Linked DNA regions of Homo sapiens: region 1 is linked to region 2. The links are contacts of gene promoters, found by promoter capture Hi-C in human tissues and cell types (Jung and others, 2019). All regions are on one chromosome and are shown on one strand. The core of a region is centred on a gene start or on the middle of the fragment in contact, and the rest is flanking DNA. Distances in the headings are between cores, read along the strand shown. Region 1 overlaps COL25A1 (collagen type XXV alpha 1 chain). Region 2 holds the start of COL25A1 (collagen type XXV alpha 1 chain).

The links. Contacts are between HindIII fragments. The study calls those that stand out against the background at their distance.
Region 1: a contact is called between a fragment that was not itself captured here and the fragment with the promoter of COL25A1 in region 2, in 1 of the 25 tissues and cell types used here (H1 embryonic stem cells).

What each region holds. Positions count from the first base shown.
Region 1 is chr4:109,160,518-109,164,153 of GRCh38, forward strand. The region is part of intron 3 of COL25A1 (collagen type XXV alpha 1 chain); the gene reads right to left. Among named protein-coding and RNA genes, the nearest start is that of COL25A1, 140 kb to the right of the region's middle. The HindIII fragment of the contact is 3,474 bases long and covers 174-3,636 here.
Region 2 is chr4:109,300,930-109,304,452 of GRCh38, forward strand. It overlaps COL25A1 (collagen type XXV alpha 1 chain), which reads right to left and starts at 1,729. Exons shown (of 38, transcript NM_198721.4): 1 at 1,240-1,729; 2 at 794-1,146. The coding sequence starts at 1,090. It overlaps COL25A1-DT (COL25A1 divergent transcript), which reads left to right and starts at 2,106. Exons shown (of 3, transcript NR_160939.1): 1 at 2,106-2,398. RefSeq lists an enhancer at 1,801-2,583. The HindIII fragment of the contact is 11,543 bases long and covers 1-3,523 here.

The DNA.
Region 1 (3,636 bases), core at 661-3,160, 140 kb before region 2:
TTATATTTTTATACCTAAGTTCGCCCTGCTTCAACCTGTCATGGATAAGCCACTACTACCTACAAGATGCCTTGGGAACGGGCTCTGTCCATCTGCACAATTTAGCATATTTGCACTAATTACTACAAGACTGGCCTATTGTTGGTCCTACAAACAGTCAGTGAGCCTGAGGTCAGCAGGAAGAGCTCTATGACCCACGCACTGACCCCAAGGGATGGCCAGTGACCTGCCGGCCTGACCTGTAAGTGAGGAAAGAACTAAAAATTCTCATCAGGATTCACTCTTTTTTTAAACTCAAAAACTAAAGTTTTTAAATGAGCATACCCTAAAATCCCTTTACCAACCTACATATTATGTAATTGGCTTATTTCCTTTTATTATAACAATACAGCATTTTATTTTTATAAATTTGAATATTGTTAGACTCTGTACATCTTATATAATCCATATATGAAATATTTATAATAATTTACATAGTATAACTCTTTTTCTAATTCTCTTTTGAGACAGGGTTCTCACTATGTTGTCCAGGTTAATTTCAAACTCCTGGCCTCAAGCGATCCTCCCACCTTTACCTCTCAAAATGCTGGGATTACACACATGGCCTCAACTATTTTATATGAATTTCAACTACATCATGATCTAGTTGGGGAACTAGAACCAGGGGAAATTTTGCACCCGGGAGATATTTGACAATCCCTGGAGACATTGATTCTTGCAACTAGAAGGTGGGACAGGCATCTGGTGGGTAAAAGTCAAGGATACTGCTAAATATTCTATAGTGTATGGGACAGCCACACAAAACAAAGAATTATCTGTTCTGAAATGTCAATAGTGCCAAGGTTGTTCTAGTTGATAGAAACCTGAATTAGTTCCTCTTACTGATTTGCCTTATAATCTAGTAAATCTGTTCTTTCTTTCTTATCCTTAAATATCTACATCAAGTAACATTATATTGTTATAATATAATTACCTGAATTGATTGTTTAAATATAAGCTTTCTGAACCCCTGAAGATGAATCTGAATTGTTAGGAAAGAGATAAGGGAATTTACATTGATATCCAGCACTGTACTCTTTCTGCTGCACTCTGAATTGTGGAAGCCAAATATCTTCTTTGTTTTATATAACAAAGTATTTGCTTTTTCCATGTTTAAACTCTGGAAGTTATATTGTATTTTCTTAAACAATTCAGAAAAACAAAAACAGATAACATTCCAGTTACTATATTAATACTTTAAAATTATACTGAAGATGGAAAAGACATTGGAGTTCATTTGTAAAACTTTCTTATAGGTGAGAAACAAGAGGAGAAGTGCCTGAGATTCCCGGACCAGTTAGTGACTTCACCAGGGACCGTGTGTTAACTAGAGTAAGGTATGAAGAAGTAGTTCACTCCAAATCTCAGGCAACAGGTAACATCTAGTGAATCATTCGGCAGCGCACTGAACTTTCCTGTGTGGTCTCTGCCAGCCATTCCAACATCATGTCCAATGCTCTGCATATGGGGCCAGGAAAGTAATGTAGTATCAAGAACATAGAAAAGAACATGAGGACATTTTTAAGATAATATAGAATTCAATTCAAATTAGTGTAATATGGTGCAGTTGACATAAATACAGGCAATTGAAGATATAACAGGGGAAATATATCAGGAAAGGCTTCCCGTAGAAGGTTTTGCATCAGATTTTTAAGGAAGAAGAGGAGAAAGATTGGCTAGAAAGAGGCATAGGGCATTTTTGGTACATGCAAAGGCCCAAAAATAGAAATTAGCAAATCAAAGTCAGAGAACTGCAAGTAGTTGTAAGTGACTGGAGCAGGCAGATCATACTGGAGAGTGCTCAGAAATTAATTTGTTAAGGTCAGCAGTCTAATGCAGAAGAGCGAAAAGAAGTGGTGAAATCATCCAAGTGCCAGGCTGTATAGATTCTCAAGACACCTGCAACTACTGTCCATCAGCTTGTTTTGTTTCCTACATAGCAGTGTGACTCCCTAAAATCATTTTTATTTACCTACTTGGCTTTTGTTGGTCTCCCTAACTACAATGCAAGTTCCATGCACTGAGTTTGGGTTGCCAGGAGGAATGTCTAGAGTCAACGAGAGCACTTTAAAATGAGGTGGATAGTATGGGAGCTATAGAAATAAGAATGAGTGTGACTAACATGAATTAGATGGAAAGAGTCAAAGTTTACTGGACCGTAACAGCTGATTTACCTGCTATGCTACAGATGTGGCCTGAGAGGCACTGTCTGACAGAGACCGGCCTCACTGAACATGTGGGGAACTGGCATCCCAGCAGCTGCCTGAACATGCAGAAGAGTTAATGACCTCCTCTCCAGGGAGTGAATTTATTTTAACTAATGTGATTTTTACCTAATTTTTTAAAAAGGGAGCCAGTGGATAAGTCGTTCTCTCTTCCTCCCCTTGAGGCACTGTTCTGACATGCATTAGTTCCTATGTCCTCTCTGATGATGTGCTGTGAGACTGAGCCATCTTTGGGGTAATTCTTGTGAAGCTGCAGCTTGGTAAAGTTCACCTCCTTATGTTTGTTCAACAACCTTTCACCTCCCCTGCTTTGCTCCGTTTCCCCCTCACTTCTGCTTCCCTAGGTTTGTACTCCCCAGTAAAGTGCTAGGATGTTAAGCTTCTGACTCAGGCCATGTTTTCTGGGCATCCCAGGCTAAGACAAAAGCTATTCTACCTACTAAATGAAACTCAACCCAAGTACTTAGTGTGTTGATTTTCAACCTACGTGGTCAAATCCAGCAAGGTTTAGAGATGTGTACAGTGTTACTAAGTGGGTGGCACAGGCTTTACGTTGCCAGTTCATCTGCCCAAAATTGTTTCCACCAGATACAATGGCCTTTGCTGCAGCCATGTAAAAACTGTGCAGAGTTTTTTGGCCTATATGACTAGAGAATATGCAAGGTGGGACATGAAGGAACTGAGGACAAAAGAGAGGTAGGTTAGCAACACACAGAAAAGAAGCAACAGGGAAATGGAAGCAGACTAATTGCAGAAGATCAACCATTTCCCCCCAGCAGGAATTCCTGCTGCACAGGCTGCATGGCAGATTTTGGAAGCCTAAACAGCATGAATGGCTAAAGGTGTTTTCTGATGAATGAGGTTTTACTTCTTTGGCAGGTAACTGAAGTCTGACTTTGGGAACAAGAACACCTGGAAGTCAGCTCAGCTCTTGAACTACTCCCAATTCCTCATATCAGGTTCATTATGAGAAGCCACCTGTGCCTCTGCTCATCAAATCCTGCTGGTTTCTGGTTCTGATCTGTTGCAATGCACCAAAGAGTCATTTTTATTTACAAAAGTAAAATAAATAATTCATAAGGATTTCCTGACCCTTCAGCTTTGAGCCAATGTGAAATTGGTCTATGTTGATGATCACAGAATTGTAAATTGCTTCAACACTTCTGCTAAGTAATTACTTAATCCAAGTAGTAAAACCTGAGTAATATAAATTAACGAGTGGTATGGCTCAGTTTTAATTACTGAAAATTATGAATTACAAGGTTTTTTTTTTAAGAAGTGCTTATGGAAGAGAATGCTATGTATTCAACAAACTCTGCTTGCTTTTTCTCTTGGGCACACAATGGAATGCAGGCAGAAGTGGGCCTGGCTT
Region 2 (3,523 bases), core at 479-2,978:
AATGTAAAAACCTAGCACTAAAATGTTGCAGTATTAGGTAAGCTGTGGCTTACCAATAACAGCCAATATTTTATACATGAAGGTCAACTGCTTTATTTATCATGCTAGGCTGCAACTACTGCCAAATAGGCTCCCGGCTAGGGTAAGGTTCCAGAAAACCCCCTTACTCTAGTCTAAAGGTACCCTTACACATAACATAGATTCCTCTCAACTCTCAATTCCAAGGGCTCTGCATTCATAAATACCCCGGCACTGCATCCTTTACCAAAAATAAAGCTACTTTAAAAAAAAAAAGTTTAAACTTTTAATATGAAAAGATTCAACGTGTGAAATTATTGATTTTAAATTATATATGACATTATTTTACATTTAAGAGTGATTACCTTTTTTATATATTAATAACATCTATGACCCTAACCATCTTACAACATGTAAAAGATTTAACAGATGCTATCTCTGCAAGAAATATTCTCTCCACAATTGGGTTTGACTTAGGACAACTAAAAAGAGATAAAATGCCCTTTCCGAACCCTTTTAGACCTTCCTATGTGTTTAACACGCAAACATTAAGAGAGAGTGAGGGAAGATTAGAGATAGGGATGGGGACATCAAGGGATGTGCACATATAAATATATGCTACAGTGAGCATAGATCCTTGGCCAACACATGCACGCGCGCGCACACACACAGCCACACCAAGTATGGGTACAGTAAGGGTAGCGGCTAGTCATGCACACAGAGTCACGCTTGTACAAGATGTTACCCACGTGCAAAATACCCCAGCCTCTCACACCTGAGCCAGAAGTCGCTCCACTTTCTCTTGCACCATAGTCTTGAGGTGATCCAGGGTATCAGGCAGCAGATGAATGGAAGGGGCCCCTTTGGCGGATTCGAGAGCGGCGATCCTCGCCTGGAGGTCGTTGGTTTTCACACCCAGGTACAGGCAAGACACCACGGCCACCACTGACAGGAGGGCCGCCAGGACGGCACACGGGGGCATGGTCCGGGCACAATGCTGTTCGGCAGGGGTCGGGTCCTCGGATCTGGGCTCCCGGCCCCCTCCTTTCCCTGCGTGCTTCTTCAGCAGCATCGTGGCGGGGTCGGCCGTCTCGGCTTCGCTTCCCACCCTCTACACCTCAAATAATCCTAAAAGGAAAGAAAAAGGTCGATTCCTCCAAAGTTCAGTCCCTGTGGCTGCACAACTAGTTGGTGGAGTCAAGCCCACGAGCGGATACGGACCCCTGCCTTGCTCAGCGTCCAGACCCGCAGGCGTGCACCATCCCCGCTTTCTTCTCTCCTCCCAGCTGGAAGTGAAAAGCACCCTCCGTCCGGGGACTGGGTGGCGGTGGGGTAAAAAGCAAGACGAAACCCACCCAGACAGCTCTTCCGACTCCCAGAGGACCGACACCTCTTTCGAGGGCCCCAACAGTGGCCGCTCAGGGTCCGAGGGCAACGGCCGAGGCGCCACGCGGGGCCGCGGCTCGCCCTGGCCACGGAGGACCGGACCTGTTGCGCCTCTGTGAGTTTGCCTTATTTCTACCTACTCGGTGTCTTTCGGCACGCCGACCTGTTTCCCACCTGCATTCAGTTCAAGGCAAAAAGGCTGTGAGAGCACGCTACAGCGCAGCGCGAAAGGGGCGACTAAGGTGGAGAAGAGAGAGGAAAACGAAATAAACCCAAGGAACCAATGCTACTCGCGAAGCCGAAGTCGCGGCTGCCCGAAGGATCTCCGCAGCCCCGCGTGCGCGATCCTTAAATACCCTTCGCGATGCTCGCGTGAGTGTGTGTGTGAGTGTGTGAGTGCGCGCGCGCTCCGAGCACGACGTCCCTCCCCCGACCCCCTCCCGGCGCCCGGCGTCCGGCCTGCCGCTCCCGCTGCTGCGCGCCCCCCTTCCGAAGGCAAAGCAGGAGCCCGCCTTATTATCATAATGTATTCACCTTGGCCCAGCCCGCGGGCCGGCCCGGGGAACCCCCAAGGGAGGCGGGAAGCTTGGGTGGGAGCGGGGCAGGAGGTCTGTTATTAGCATAATGTATGCAAATAGCTGGAGCGGCCACCGTGATTGGAGAGGAGCCTGGCGACCCCTCCCCCTGCGCGGAGTAACTTCAGCATCTCCGAGGGCCACCTCTCTGGCCTGGGCCGGGGCCGAAGCGGGGTCGGCTGCGCAAGAGGCGGCAACTTTGGCTTATACTGACTCAGCCCAGCGCCCCCTTTTTATCCCACATAAAAATGGAGAAATGGCCTCCGGGAGGAAGATGTGAAGCGGCACGCTCTATCTCTACTGATCTTCACTCAAAAGCAGCCGCAGGAGCTGTTGCTATCTCGCTGTGGTGCAGCGCTTTTCCCTCCTCCCTCACTTTCCCACATGCCCAGAGGCAAAGTGTCTGGCCGACGTCTGAGGTACATTTCCCCACTTCCCTTCTCTTCCCACTGCAGCCCTCAGATTGTCCAACGAGGGGAAGTTTTCCTTCCCCTCCCCCAGTTTCCTTGTCTTGACGGCACTGAGTCTCCTCCCAGCTCTGTATTCCTAGTCTGTACTAGGGTGCTAATGTGTTTTCCTGATTCCCTGTTTTGCGGGATTGGAAAAGGGAGTGTTGAGGTATACACATTTCTCAGGATTTAGGAAAGGAATGAAGAATGAAGTCAGTTTTTCCTTTTACCTGACTCTTAATGCTGTTCTCTCTGGATCAAATTACAAGGTCTCTAATGGGATTTTGGAAAGTTGGTAACAAGTAGCATTTGACATCTAATTGACTTTGGGGAAAACAGAAATCCCACCTCTTATTCCAAAGAGTTCCTTCTTATCTCCCTATAAAAAAAAAAACCATATATTTTTCCTATTCTCCTTAATTAAGCTAACCTGAAGTCGTTGCTTACTATTGTAAACAGTCAACAAAATACTTCACTAAGTTGGTCTTTCACATGTGTAAACGGATATTGCTAGGTGTGAAGCAAGGTAAGGAAATAACAGCATTAGAGGAAGAAAGAGACTAACATTGGAGGAAAACTCAATGAATTTGGCTATAAAGTCAAAACCATAATTCATTTGTATTACACAGTGGTTCTCAAAGGATGGTCCTAGACCAATAACATCAGCATCACCTGAGAACTTGGACATTAAAATTCTAGGTTCCTACCACAGATCTGAATCAGAAACTGCTACTACCACTACTGAAATAATAATTTTAAAAAAAACAGCAATCTGTGTTTTAACAAGCCCTCCAAATGATTTTGATATATACTACTAAAGTTTGAGAACCACTGGTATAATACTTTCCAAAATATTTTCAAATACTTTTTGTATTTGAACCTCATAACCCTGCGATGTGAGGATTTACTGTTCCTCTTTTAAATATAAACAACGTTTTTAAATAAATTTTAAAACAGATAAATTTCAAGTCACATTTAATTGTGATTAAACATGTTTCCAATAACAGGACCCAAATAATGGGTACAAATATTTTAATGTACAAACTCTTTCTGTAACCTCTAGCTGTTCCTTAGTCTCATTTGCAGGCTTTTCCT